Linked DNA regions of Homo sapiens: all the other regions are linked to region 3. Evidence: promoter capture Hi-C in 16 types of primary human blood cells and fetal thymus (Javierre and others, 2016). All regions are on one chromosome and are shown on one strand. Each heading gives the region's core, a stretch centred on a gene start or on the middle of the fragment in contact. The rest is flanking DNA. Distances are from core to core; before and after follow the strand shown.

Region 1 (4,927 bases), core at 555-3,054, 610 kb after region 3:
TTCTTTTTCATGGTTTCAATTACTGGTCCAAAAATATCAAGATATTTAGAAAGAGAGAGAGAGAGACCACATTTATGTAACTTCTGTGACAGTATATCATAATTATACTGTTTTGTTGTTATTGTTGTTAATTTCTATGTGTTGTTAATCACTTACTGGTTTACAATTAAACTTCATCATAGGTATGTAGATAAAGGAAAAGGCATAGTATATGTAGGGCTCAATACTATCGCAGTTTTAGGCATCCACGGGGGTCTGGAAATCCACCAGCTGTGGATAAGGGGGACTACTGTATAGAAGAAACGTGGATGACAGCAAGAGTACAGAGGGTGCTGGGAGGAGTAATGTCCTGGTATCGTGCTAAGGTTTTTGCATTTAATTCAAGGTGGTATAATATTAATTACAAGTAGATTGTGATAAGGTAAGGATGCATATTCTAATCCCAAGAGTAACCACTAAAACACAGTACCAGGAAGAATGGCCAAAAACCCAACAGAGAGCATGAAAATACTAAAATAAAATTTAACTCAAAAGAAGGCAGGAAAGAATGAACAAAATAACAAAATCAGATGGTATAAATACAAAATAAATAGAGAAATAGTAGGCTTAAACCCAACCATATAATTAATTATGATAAATGTGAATGAATCAAATATTCCTATTAAAAGGCAGAGATTATCAGATTGGATAATGTGCTGTCAGCAAGAGATTCCTTTTTTATAGAGATCATAACCTGCTACTAGAAGAATAGGGAAAAAACCCAGGTAGAACTAAAAGAGCTGGTGTGGCTATTTTAACATCAGACAAAATAGACTTCAAGAAAAGGAGTATTACCAGTGATAAAGAGAAACATTGTATAATGAAAAAAGGGTCACTTCATTACACAGGCATGACACCAATGTGTATATGTAACCAATAATGGCTTCAAAATATATAAAATAAAGCCTGTCAGAACTGGAGAGAGAGGTAGACTTATCATTAGATATTTTACCATCTCTCTCTTAGTAATTGATAGAATGAGTAGGAAAAAAATCAGTGAGAATACGGAAGATTTGAACACGTTGTTTACCACTCTGAGCTAATTAAGGTTTATAAGATACTACAGCCACAACACAGAAAACTCGTTTCTTGTGTGCACTCCAGACTTTCACTGGGAAAGATCACACATTGGCCCATAAAATAAGTCTCAGTGAATTTCAAAATACAGAAATCTTAGAATATATTCTCTGACCAAAATAATATAAGATATATTAGAAAATCTTTCGAACTAAATGATAAAAACACAACATAGCAAAATTAGTTGTATTTGTCATATAAAGCAGTGCTTAGAAAGTTATGGCTTTAAATGCTTACATAGAAAATAGGAAAGGCTTAAAATAAATGACCTAAGCTTCTACCTTAAGAAGGAAGAACAAGAAGCACAAATTAAACCCAAAGTTAGCTGAAGGAAGACAATAATAAAGAGCAGTAATAGATGAAATAAAAGAGAAAAATAATAGAAGAAATCAGCAATGGCAACGGTTCGTTCTTTAAAACGGTTCCAAAAATTTGATAAACACTTAGCAAGACTGATCAAGAAAGAATGAGAGAAAAGACATATTATTAATATCAGGAGAGAGAGCATATCACTACACATTCCAGAGATATTTTAAATATCTTTATATTAATATATTCTGCACCATAGATGAAATGAAAAAATTTATTGAAAAAAAAATAACTTACCAAAACTGACACAAGAATAGAAAATTTTAATAACCCTATAGCTAATAAATAGATTGAATTTGTAATTAAAAATCCTCTTGTGAAGTAAACTCCAGGCTATAAATTCTATCAAACTGTTAAGGAAGGTCTAACACCAATCTTATACAAAATCTTGAAGAAAATAGAGAAGGAAAAAAATCTTTTCAATTCATTTTATGAAGACAGCCTATGTCTGATAACCCATAAAGACTTTTCATCAAAGTACCAACCAATATCCCTCATGAACATAGATTAAAAAATTCTTATGCAAAATAGGAGCCACTGAAATCTAGCATTAGATAAAAAAGATAATAAATCATGAACACTTGGTATGAATCTTGGGAATACAAAGTTGGTTTAACATTTGAAAATCCATCAACATATTTAACAGAAAAATAACTGAAGAAAAAAATTAACAGAGGCAGAACAAGCATTTTTGGGGGACAAAATTCAGTACCCATTTATGATAAAAGCTTTTAGCAAACTGGGAATAAAAGGGAACTTCCTCAATCTGATAAAGTTTCCATGGATAACAAAGCTCTGCAGAAAACATCACACTTGATGGTGAAAGACTGAATGCTTCCCCCCTGAGATCACACAGAATGACGCCTTCTCTCATCCCTTCTATTTAAACCTTCGCTAGAGATCCGAGCCAATGCAATCAGGCAAACAGAGCAAAAAAATATGTGAAGATTAGAATGAAAAAAGTAAAACTGTCTTTTTTTCAAAAAAGAAGCATACTTAGAAAATCCTGAAAAATCTACTGGAGCTAATAGGTGAATTTAGCAAGGTTTTTTGATATAAGGTAAATATTTAAAAATAAATTATATTTCTGTATACCAGCAACAAGAAATGGAAATCAAATTAGAAGATATGTCATTTACCCATATCGGAGAACATAAATTATGTAGACACAAATTTAACAAAAGATGCAGAAAATCTGAATACTGAAAACAAACCACCGTGGAGAGAAACTTTTTAAAAACCAAAATAAATGAGAGATATACCATGTTCATATTGGAAGATTCAATATTTCTAAGATGTCAGCTTTCTTTGATCTATAGATTCAATGTAATCTCCATAAAAATCACAACGGTTTTTTAAGAATCAGACAAGCTGATTCTAAAATTTAGATGAAAATGCAAAGGATCTAGAATAATCCAAAATAATCTTGAAACAGAAGAACAAAATTGGAGGGTGTCATATGCTGAATAATGAGCCCCAAAATATCCAGGTCCTAAACCCTAGAACTGTGATTGTTACCTTACATGGAAATAGAGACTTTGTAGATGTGATTAAGTTATGGACTTTGAAATGGGGGAAAGATCCCACATTATCTGGGTGGACCTTAAGTGCAGCCACAAGTGTGCTTAAAAGATGGGGGAAGAGAGAGATTTGCACAGAAGAAGGCAAGATGGCCACTGGCGCAGGGTGCCATGCTGCTGGGAGGGACGGCTTCAAGATGGCTGACTAGAGGCATTTCAGACTTGCCTCTGACACTGAGAAGAGGCAAAATAGTGAGTAGATAATCACACGTTGAATAGATCATCCAAGAGGGAACACTGGAATTCAACAGAAAAGTGACAGGAAATACCTAAGGCAAGGAAGGACAAGGAAGCAAGGCAGCCTGCTAGGCTGAGAGCTGAGAGAGACTCCCCAGTGTGGGGAAAGGTAAGTGAGAGATCCCCAGTGGTCGACATTCCCACTCTGGACTCCTGAAATCCAAGGCACAGGAGAGCCCCTCACCCTTTGTGGGCCCTGAAACTAACTGATGGGAGATTGTGCAATGGCACTGCTCGGAGGGTGCTCACTCTAGGTCTCACACTCTCTGAGACCTGAGCAGCCACACTAAGGAGGCAATTTATTTATATTTTAATTTTTAATTTCAATAGGGCTTTGGGGAGCAGGTGGTGTTTGGTTACGTGATAAAGTTCTTCAGTGGTGATTTCTGAGATTTTGGCACTCCCATCACCTGAGCAGTGTACACAGTACCTGATGTGTAGTTTTTTATCTCTCATCCCCTCCCACCCTTTCCCCTGAGTCCCCAAAATCCATTGTATTATTCTTATGCCTTTGCATTCTCATAGCTTAACTCCCAATTATAATTTGGAACATATGATGTTTAGTTTTCCATTCCTGAGTTACTTCACTTACAATAATGGTCTCCAATTCATCCAGGTTGCTGCAGATGCCATTATTTTATTCCTTTATATGGCTGAGTAGTATTCTATGGTGTATATATACCACAATTTTTTTAATCCAATTATTGATTGATGCACATTTGGGATGGTTCCATATTTTTGCAATTAGGAATTGTGCTGTTATAAACATGTGTGTGCAAGTATCTTTTTTGTATAATGACTTCTTTTCCTCTGGGTAGATAGCCAGTAGTGAGATTGCTGGATCAAATGGTAACCTACTTTTAGTTCTTTAAGAAATCTGCAAGGAGCCATTTTACAGCCCTGTCCCCAACAGACTGTGTACTGTCCGGGAGCCCAGTGGTGCTGGGGCTGAGGTGCAAGAGAAATGTGGGCTGCTACCCCTGGGGCTGAGGTGTGAGTGAGGCATAGGCTACCACCTTAAAGGCTAAGGTGTGAGTGGCATATGTTCCCCACCCACCAGCCTAATCTGTTGCCACTGAAGGTGGCCCACCCTCCCCAGTGGCAGGGCAGCAGTGTGGCCACTGATGTCCCCAGCCTGAGCATTCCATTGCTGGCCTGGGGATCACTTCACTCCTGCCTACCATGGCTGGTACCTGTACACACCATTGAGGGGCCTGAATACAAGCCCACCTGACCTGGCTTCATGTCCCCTGGCCCCTGTGCCAGAGCATGTGGACTAGGGCTGAGGGACTGCCCAGCTCAGTGGTTCAGTCCACCATCAGTGGTACCTGACCACTTCTCCTGAGGGCCTAAGGTTGGGCCTACCGACTCTGCTGTTACCACTACAGCTGGTACCTACTTGCACATGTCACCCGTGGCCCTGTGCACAAGCCCAACCAGCCCATTGCAGCCACTGCCAATACCAGCATGCACTGCTCAGGACCTACAAGGTTTTCCTGCCACTTCCACTGCCATTACCCACACCATGCCAGCTGCCTAGGGACCTGAGAACCCAGCCACCTACCTGGCCCACTGATGCCACTACCAACATCCAAGTAAGCCTCCTGGAAGCCCAAGAATAGGCC
Region 2 (4,364 bases), core at 1,265-3,764, 530 kb after region 3:
CTGGAGTACAGTGGTGCGATCTTGGCTCACTGCGACCTCTGCCTCCCAGGTTCAAGCGATTCTCCTGCCTCAGCCTCCCAAGTAGCTGGGATTACAGGCATGTGCCACCACACCCAGCTAATTTTTGTTAGTAGAGATGGGGTTTCACCATGTTGGCCAGGATGGTCTCGATCTCTTGACCTTGTGATCTGCCCACCTAGGCCTCCCAAAGTGCTGGGATTACAGGTGCAAGCCACTGCACCCAGCATCTCTCCCTGTTTTTAAGAGGAAACCAGCCCTAGAGAATCAGGGCCACCTCCTTCTGATCTCATCTAACCCTGATTGCCTCCTAATAGCCCTATCTGCAAATACTGTCACACTGCAGGATTCAGGCTTCAACATATGGATTTAGAGAGGACACAATTCAGTGCATAGCAACTTGTTGCCATATTTGGCTATTGTCAAATAAAAACAATACGGAGGGCTGGGCGACCTGCACATTCAGTCCCTTAGAACCAGAAGCTTGAGCAGCCCAGAGGCCAGTGCAGACCCTGCTTGCCTGGCGCTTTGCTGTGACCTCTGCTTGACAATGCTTGCTGCCTTGGAGCTGACGGGCTCTCGTCCAGCTCAGCTGGGGCACAAAACCGTGTAGCTTTGTCTAATTAAGAGCCACAGATGAAGTGCACCTTGGATGTGTTTCTTATTATTTCGGATGAAAGGTTGGCCTCTCTAGAAATCACCCCCAAGATTACTGTGCCTCAAACCTCGCTTGTTCCAGCCGATAGGGAAATGACGTTTTAACGATCATGTTAAATGAAACTGTAAGCTTGACCTTATTAGCTGCCTCTTCTTAATTAGCTGCTTATGCAAGCATTCTTTCCCCCCTGTAGATACAAATCAACAATTTCCAAGCCATCTTTGAACCAACCCACTCTTCTGTCCCCTTGCCAATTCCCTAGCTCCAGGGTTAATAAACTTCACATATGCTCAAGAGCAATTGCGTTAAGAAATGTTGCTTCCACGTAATTACTAGCAAAGTGCAGCATCAGCAGCCATTCATCCCTCACACATGTGCAAATTTACTGCAGGGTACATTCCTAGGAGTGTGTGTCATGGAGGACGGCTTGGCAGCTAGCATTCTGTGTGCTCTCCTCGCTGTTCCTTCAAAGGCTGGAAGGTGAGCCACTGCTTTTCCCGCTTCCCTTGCCGCTAGAGTTCTAAATGTGAAATGGGTTATGCCCGGTGGTCAATGTTTAACAACCAGCTCTCAAAAAAAAACAAAAAAACAACACAAAACAAAAGCAACCCGGCTGTTAGTGCTTGCTGATTTCCATGGTGTAAATATATCCACTGTGGTCAATTTCAATCTTGCTATCCCCTGGTGTCCCTGGACCTGGAATTGGAATTGCCGTGCACCGTTGGCTGTCACTAGGCTGAGCCAGCTCCAGCACATCCATAGTCCTGCCAATTCTTCGCACACCACTATGATTCAGAGGCCAAGACTCTCCTCCTGCTGCTTTTGGCCGTTTCTGCTGGCGAGCAAAGTTGTGGTGGTTGTTTTTCCTGTGGCAGCGTTCCAGGGTCCATTCAGTCCCTTTGTGGGGTCAAGAGGCAGGTATGGTACAGCACTGGGAGCCTCCCGACCCCCACCTGGCTGAGTGGAGTCAGGCTAGCAGAGCCCAGCCGGCTGGTCCCCAGGCCTTTTTCCGGGCACCACGCCAATAGGCCTGGCCCATGCCTCTCAATAAAACGGTAAGCCCCTAATTTCCTGTCTAAACCCCTTTTTGCTTAAAATTGTTAGAGTGGTTTCTGTTTCCTGTAACTAAACCCTGGCTGATGTAAAGTGGAACCTGAAACTGCATTTTTTTTTTTTTAAAGCAGATGTACGTTTTCCTTAGGCTTGTCTCCTAATCTGTCTGTGCAGAAGGATTTTAATGCGTTGTGAGGCCTGGGAGGACAATAATGAGTAAATTGGCACTCATTAAGCTTTGTAAATCTGAGAACTCTGGAGACAAAGCATCTGAGTGAGCTGAGAAGGGTGAGACCCACTTCTAGGGTCTGTGAGGCCCTGTCCTCTTAGCACTCCTTCTGCCAGGCCCCGGCAAGGCTGTCTGTGTTCACCAGGCAGAGGCTAGGCTGTAGGATGCTGGCGTTAGTTAGGGAGAAACTGGATTTTCTTAGATCCACAGAATCAGACACAAGTCATGAGACTATGTCATTTAGTTTGCAACTCCAAATGCTTTTGAGGCTGAGTTAACTGTGGGACGTCTCTTTGGATTTACTCTCAGGCAGGGCTCCTCCCTGGGGAGCAAACTACTCCTGAGGTGAGATGGGGGAGAACAGATGTGTACCAGTGATCCCAGCAGCCTAGGGAGGAGGCCCGACTTGCAGAGGCATTCTTTCAGCTCATTAAAGAGCACCCTCTTTGATAAAGGCAATTACCTCTTGGGAAAGAAGCCTGTTAGCAGCCCTCAGAACCTGGGTGTGAATGAATTTCCAGGTTCTTTCCAAGCTGAGAGCAGGTAGGTACTGCGAGGATGAGGCACAGCCTGGGTAAGTCTGGCAGCCGGAACTGTGGGGAGTAGACCCACCCACGGTCACTAATAAGAGGGGCTAGTCGGGACTGTGCCCTGAGAAGTGGGAGCTGAGCCCTGCAGAACCAGCTTCTAGGCTCTGTCCCCTCCTGCTGGCCCTTGGATAAGCCTCTCTGGGCCCCCTGCTTTCTCATCTGTCAAATGGGGATTATATTACCTAGCCTCATAATGTTCTCCTGCGGTGGGTAAAATGGAATCTTCAAAGCGCTAGGGAAATAGAAAGTGAGGGCGGGGTAGTGGGAGCTGTGGGCCTGGGTTCAGGCAGCGAGGTGACACACTGTCACTGAAGTCACAATAATAAAATCTACTAAGTCAGACGACTGGTGTTTTTGTTGCTGTTGTTTGTTTTTCTAATTACCAGGCATGATTAAATACTCCTGCCAGGGAAAATATTTTGTTGATCTAAATTCTAAACAATTGTGAGGGTTTATGTATATATATATATACTTCAAATCAACATGATTTTATTTATTATCCTTTGATAAGCTTTGTATTCCAAGTGAAAGTTAATTTCAGAACTCCCAGGTATAAAGTCGGTCCAGAAATGTGCTTTTCAAAAGTAAGTTGTGAGCCGTCTGAAGCCACTTTGGACATCATTCACGTCTCCAGTGCCCCAGGGTGCTGTGAATTCCTACATTTAAACAGCAGATTTGACGAAGCAACAATAGCACAGTGATCGGAAAGAGGAAGATTCGGAACTTAAGTTACTTCAATTCTGTATTCTGTGTGACCATTGAAGTCTTGTTTGTGTTTAACATTTAAAACAGTATAAGAGGCCAGGAGCGGTGGCTCATGCCTGCCGGTAATCCCAGCACTTTGGAAGGCCGAAGTGGGCGGATCACAAGGTCAGGAGTTCAAGACCAGCCAGACCAACATGGTGAAACCCTGTCTCTACTAAAAATACAAAAAATTAGCTGGGCGTGGTGGCAGCCGCCTGTAATCCCAGCTACTCGGGAGTCTGAGGCAGGAGAATCCCTTGAACTCAGGAGGCAGAGGTTGCAGTGAGCCGAGATCGCGCCACTGCACTCCAGCCTGGGTGACAGTGTGAGACTCAGTCTCAAAAACAAACTAACAACCCCAAAAAACAGTACAAGAGCACAAACTGCAAGGTGAGGGGACATTTTAGTTCATATATGAAATATTTTACTACATTGGAATGATATATTTAAAATTGGAAACATGTTCTTTTTAAATTATTAATTTAAAACTAAGGAACAAATCAAGAAAATTAAATATTAGAGAAAATATAGTAGTTGCCCAAGTTTTATCTTTTGCAGATGTTTTGTCTCATTTACTGAAATATAATTGATATACCATAAAATTCACTGTTTTAAAGTATACAATTCAGTGTTTGCTTTTTCTTTTTCCTTTAACCGTACTCACAAGGTTGTACAGCTTTCACTGCTATCTAATTCTAGAATATCTTTGTCACCTGAAAAATAAACCCCATACCACGAGCAGTCACTCTTCACTTCCCTCAGCCCTGGGCAGCCACTAGTCTATGTCTTCATGGATTTGCCTATTCTCAGAATTTAATAGAAGTGAAATCATATAATAGGTGACTTCTGCATTTGGTTTCTTTCCCTTAGCGTAATGTTTTCAAGGTTCTTCCATATTGTAGCATGTCAGAATTCCCTTCCTTTTGCTTTCCTTCCTGAATCATATTCCCTTGTATGGCTATACCAGATTTTCTTCTCCATTCGTCAGCTGCTAGGCATTTGGGTTATTGTCACCTTTTGGCCATTGTGAATCATGCTCCCATGAAGATTCATGTAGAAGATTTTGTGTGAA
Region 3 (4,875 bases), core at 2,307-4,806:
CTTTTTACCCACATTCCAGAAAGTTCTGGCTGGCTCGCATGGGTCTGGTGTCCACTCCTTGGCTCATCAGGTATGCCAGGTGGAGTCAGCGTGAGCCTGTAAGAGCTCCCCGCTCTCATCTGCACCCTAGTGCCAGGTGGGGTCAGTGTGAGCCTGTAAGAGCTCCCCACTCTCATCTGCACCCTAGTGCCAGGTGGGGTCAGTGTGAGCCTGTAAGAGCTCCCCGCTCTCATTTGCACCCTAGTGCCAGGTGGAGTCACTGTGAGTCTGTAAGAGCTCCCCGCTCTCATTTGCGCCCTAGTGCCAGGTGGAGTCACTGTGAGCCTGTAAGAGCTCCCCGCTCTCATTTGCGCCCTAGTGCCAGGTGGAGTCACTGTGAGTCTGTAAGAGCTCCCCGCTCTCATTTGCGCCCTAGTGCCAGGTGGGGTCAGTGTGAGCCTGTAAGAGCTCCCCGCTCTCATTTGCGCCCTAGTGCCAGGTGGAGTCACTGTGAGCCTGTAAGAGCTCCCCGCTCTCATTTGCGCCCTAGTGCCAGGTGGAGTCACTGTGAGCCTGTAAGAGCTCCCCCCTCTCATTTGCACCCTAGTGCCAGGTGGGGTCAGTGTGAGCCTGTAAGAGCTCCCCCCTCTCATCTGCGCCCTAGTGCCAGGTGGAGTCACTGTGAGCCTGTAAGAGCTCCCCCCTCTCATTTGCACCCTAGTGCCAGGTGGGGTCAGTGTGAGCCTGTAAGAGCTCCCCGCTCTCATTTGCGCCCTAGTGCCAGGTGGAGTCAGTGTGAGCCTGTAAGAGCTCCCCGCTCTCATTTGCACCCTAGTGCCAGGTGGGGTCAGTGTGAGCCTGTAAGAGCTCCCCGCTCTCATTTGCGCCCTAGTGCCAGGTGGGGTCACTGTGAGCCTGTAAGAGCTCCCCGCTCTCATTTGCGCCCTAGTGCCAGGTGCAGTCAGTGTGAGTCTGTAAGAGCTCCCCCCTCTCATCTGCACCCCAGGACCACAAGAGCTGTTCTCTCAGGTGGACAATAGAGAGATGGGATCAGAAGTCATTGCTTCCCTCAAGAAACTTAACTATCAGAGGATGAACCAAATGCTCATTAGATGATATTTAATATTAGTGAAGAAAAACTTGATAAAAACATGTCATGGGACTGCTGACTTAATGTTTGGTAAATTGCTGATTTAAAATACATTTCTTTACCTTTCTTTTCTGCAGTGGTTGGAGAAAAGGAAAAGATAGATAATGCTGTAAACGTGCGAACAAGAGACAACAAAATTCATGGAGAGATTTTAGTAACTTCTGCCATTGATAAACTGAAGAATCTCAGGAAGACACGGACACTCAATGCTGAGGAGGCCTTTTGAAGTCCTTCCCTGATATTTGCTTCTGTGTAACTTTGTTTTGACCCTTAAAAATGTATTTTTCTTAACATGTTAGTACTTCTACGACTTTGGAGCCACTGATGGGTCCACTCATGGCCTCAGCTGAGAAAGGAGACGATGAACGTGTAGCTGACATGCACGAAGTTTAATTTACTCATGTCCACGGGGGACGTTTAGAGGGCACGTGGGAAATTTTCCAGCAATCAATGCCTTGAGAAACTTAAATGGGGAAATATTATTCATCGAGAAAGTGAAACAAAACACTAGGAAATGATTATGAAATGTTAGTGATTTTCAAAAGATGGGCTTCAAATAAAAGTCTGCAGAGTTTTTTTTAAATAGGAGGGAAAATCTTATTTTCTAATATGTCTCAGGTATTTTTATGACTTCTACTAAAATTCACACTGAAACTTTATCTTCTAAACTGGAATCATTACTTAATTTTAACTAACCAACAACCACAAAAGCAGCAGCTACTGCTAAATATTGGATTACTGACAAAGGAATTCAGTTTTGTGGAATCTGGTGTTTGCACTATAGGTTAAGAGTTGCCATTTAAATGTTTCTTATTCATAATTAGGTTTTGTTCCGCTTTAGAAAAAAATAAATTCCCAAATGAATTGCATCAGTGTTTCCAGCGTTTCAGCTGTGGGCTTCTACCACCACTAAGCCGCTCACCTAGAGTTGTTACTTTTTTGATGGGATGACATTCCATGGATTTATGTACTGAAATGGATTTCAGATTTTAAAGAGAGGAATGCTCTACGTGCTCAGAACTGAATTAAAATGGCATTATGTCAATAGAGAATTCAGCTACCAAACAAGAAGTATTGTTTATTTTGCGATATGCTGTGAAATTCAAAAGAAATGTAAGAAATAATCTCTTTTCAATATACTGATCATTTAGTTAACTTCCTGAGGGATGTGAACAGTGAAACAGTTGGCAAACAAAACAATATATATCAGGCTTGTGTAGTAGTATAAGGTGCAGATTGTGTGATATGATTTTTATTATTTATTTTTTGAGACGGAGTCTCGCTCTGTCACCCAGGCTGGAGTGCAGTGGCGCGATCTCGGCTCACTACAACCTCCGCTTCCCGGGTTTAGGCGATTCTCCTGCCTCAGCTTCCCCAGTAGCTGGGACCACAGGCGCGTGCCTCCACGCCTGGCTAATTTTTTTGTATTTTTAGTAGAGACAGGGTTTCACCGTGTTGTTAGCCAGGATGGTTTCGATTTCCTAACCTCGTGATCCGCCCGCCTGGGCCTCCCAAAGTGCTGGGATTACAGACGTGATTCACCGCCCCCGGCCGTGATACGATTTTTAAAGCTAACATTCAGGGCTTATGTGCCGGCACTTTTCCATGTATTTTTTAAAAAGTCATTCAGCAAACATGCACGTGAGGGGGTGGTAGTCAGAAGACCGCGGAATGAACGATCCCGAAGCACGTGGGTGGGAGGAGAGCACCTGTCACCAGCGCTTTCTCCCAGGTGTGCTGTGACAGAAACCGGCAAGGGTCTCCGCAAGCTGGGGCCTGAGCGCGGCTCCCCAGACGGCCGCGACCTTCCCCAGGCAGGGCTGGGCTCTGGACCCTCCCCTCACTTCCCAGCGCCTCGGGCCATCCTGCTTCTCCAGGCCTGAGAGGAACTTTCTGGAAGTGCTGCGTATCTTCAAGAGGCCGGCCAGAAGTGAAAGCCGCGGCAGGCCTGAGCGCCGGCCCCAGGGGAGGGGTCCCTCGGGCCCTCGTCGTCCCGGGGCCGCTTCCCCGACTGTAAATAAGTGTCTTTAGGATGAAACGCCACGCGATAGTGTCCTCGGAACCTTCGCACGAGATCCAGCACACAACATCCGACCACACACTGGGGCGGCCAGCCTCCCGCGTTCGCCCGCCTCTGCTCTTGGTTGCTTCGGGCGCGCATTTCGGTCCACGGATGACCTTTAACAGGTCTCCTGCAGTGGAACCAGGGGTGAGGGCCTCGTCCAAGGGCGTGAGGGGCGCGTGGAAATGGAACAACCTCCCAGGCTCGCATCCTCCTCGGGGACCTCCCAGAAGGCTCAACCGGAAGAAAACCCGCGACCCGCGCGAGGACAGCGAAAGCGCAAACGCCGGCCGCCAGGAGTCGCAGCGCGCCTGCGTCCAGTTCACGCTCCGGCTCCCAGGCGCGCCCCGCCCCCCGGCCCGGAAGTGCGCAGGCGCTGGCAAGATGGCGGGAGGGGTGCTCCCGCTGAGGGGCCTCCGCGCCTTGTGTCGCGTGCTGCTCTTCCTCTCGCAGTTCTGCATTCTGTCGGGCGGTGGTGAGTCAAAGGCTGGGTTCAGCGCCGGGTGGGGCTGAGTGGCAGCAGGGCCCCGGGAGCTGCGAGGAGGCCGGGCCCACGGGCGGACGCTGACGCGGGGAGGAGGCCGAGTGCCGGGCTCCGGGCCGCTTGTCGCTGCATCTGGAGTCTGGCGCCCTGGCCGCCCGGCCCGAGGCCGCCCCTCCGCTCCGGCGACACCGAGCCCGCCATCGCGGCTGCGGAGCCCTGGCACGGAGATGGAGCGCTTGGGGGCTGGGCCGGGGAGGCGGAACTGGAGCGCGATGTCATCCTTCGGTCCCTCGTTGCCGGCTGACCTGAACTGATGTCTACTCTGTTGACGTTTCGTCCCTAAGCTTTGTGTTTTCTGGCTGACCAGCCGTGAGGTTTTCATGAGCAGCTTATTGGCCTGGTGTAGACCCGCCGTGTTAACCACACAAAATAAGGTTTTCTTGTCCCGGGATAACGTGTTTCTCTAATTGTACGATCCTTAAATTTAGAGCAATCGCAGGCGCTGGCTCAGTCAATAAAGGATCCGGGCCCAACACGCACATTCACAGTAGTTCCCAGGGCAGCAGGTACTAGACGTTTTCTATTCTAGTAAATACATGTAGTTATCTCTAGTAGTTTCTCTTTGTTTTTATAAAAATTCCCTTTAGTATACGAAGTCACTTTCCATTTTTGAATATTTATTGTATTTTAGATTATGTGAATTAAGGGTAGATACACAGCCATTTTCAGTAGATAGTCTTCGTATTTATACCTTTTGACGTTTCTGCCTCCTCTCTTTTTCCAATCCCACGCTCATTTGTCACCTTATTTCTATTATTTTTCCACTTCATCCATCAAAATAACCTTCAGTCCGTGCTTCTTTCCCTTCAGCAAATTTCCTCTACTGCTAAAACCCTGTTCCTGATGTTGGAATATTAAAGGCTCCCTCAGGACTGTGGAAATGGAAGGATTACAGCGGGACTGATGGAGACTTGAAATCTAGATCTGGTTTTGCTACTGGGATCTTGAACAAATTATTTATCCTCTTTGGACCTTGGTCCTCATCTTTAAAGCGGTGGGGTTGGTCTGACGACCTAAAGTCATTTCTGCTTTGTGATTCTAAGTGTCCACCTTCCAGCCACATAGTCACGGGATCAAAAAGAGTATTTTGTAGAATTGTTCCTTAATACAGTGAGTAAAGTAGGACCAGTTTTAAACAAG

Evidence for each region. Contacts are between HindIII fragments. The CHiCAGO score rates a contact against its expected background, and 5 or more counts as called.
Region 1: a fragment that was not itself captured here is called in contact with the fragment with the promoter of TM2D3 in region 3 in 1 of 17 cell types (naive B cells); the score reaches 5.4 in naive B cells.
Region 2: a contact is called between a fragment that was not itself captured here and the fragment with the promoter of TM2D3 in region 3, in 1 of 17 cell types (total B cells). The highest score is 5.5, in total B cells.

Annotation. Positions count from the first base shown.
Region 1 is chr15:101,037,066-101,041,992 of GRCh38, reverse strand. All of the region lies in intron 20 of LRRK1 (leucine rich repeat kinase 1), which reads right to left. Among named protein-coding and RNA genes, the nearest start is that of LRRK1-AS1, 110 kb to the left of the region's middle. The HindIII fragment of the contact is 823 bases long and covers 1,393-2,215 here.
Region 2 is chr15:101,125,091-101,129,454 of GRCh38, reverse strand. The region is part of intron 1 of LRRK1-AS1 (LRRK1 antisense RNA 1); the gene reads left to right. Among named protein-coding and RNA genes, the nearest start is that of LRRK1-AS1, 25 kb to the left of the region's middle. RefSeq lists enhancers at 1,430-1,599, 1,810-1,919, 2,210-2,259 and a silencer at 2,550-2,599. The HindIII fragment of the contact is 1,094 bases long and covers 1,968-3,061 here.
Region 3 is chr15:101,651,062-101,655,936 of GRCh38, reverse strand. TM2D3 (TM2 domain containing 3) reads left to right here and starts at 3,556. Exons shown (of 6, transcript NM_078474.3): 1 at 3,556-3,666; 2 at 4,164-4,241. The coding sequence starts at 3,576. It overlaps TARS3 (threonyl-tRNA synthetase 3), which reads left to right. Exons shown (of 19, transcript NM_152334.3): 19 at 1,207-2,341. The coding sequence ends at 1,355. RefSeq lists enhancers at 2,262-3,152, 3,259-3,318 and silencers at 2,979-3,168, 3,409-3,968. The HindIII fragment of the contact is 10,431 bases long and covers 1-4,021 here.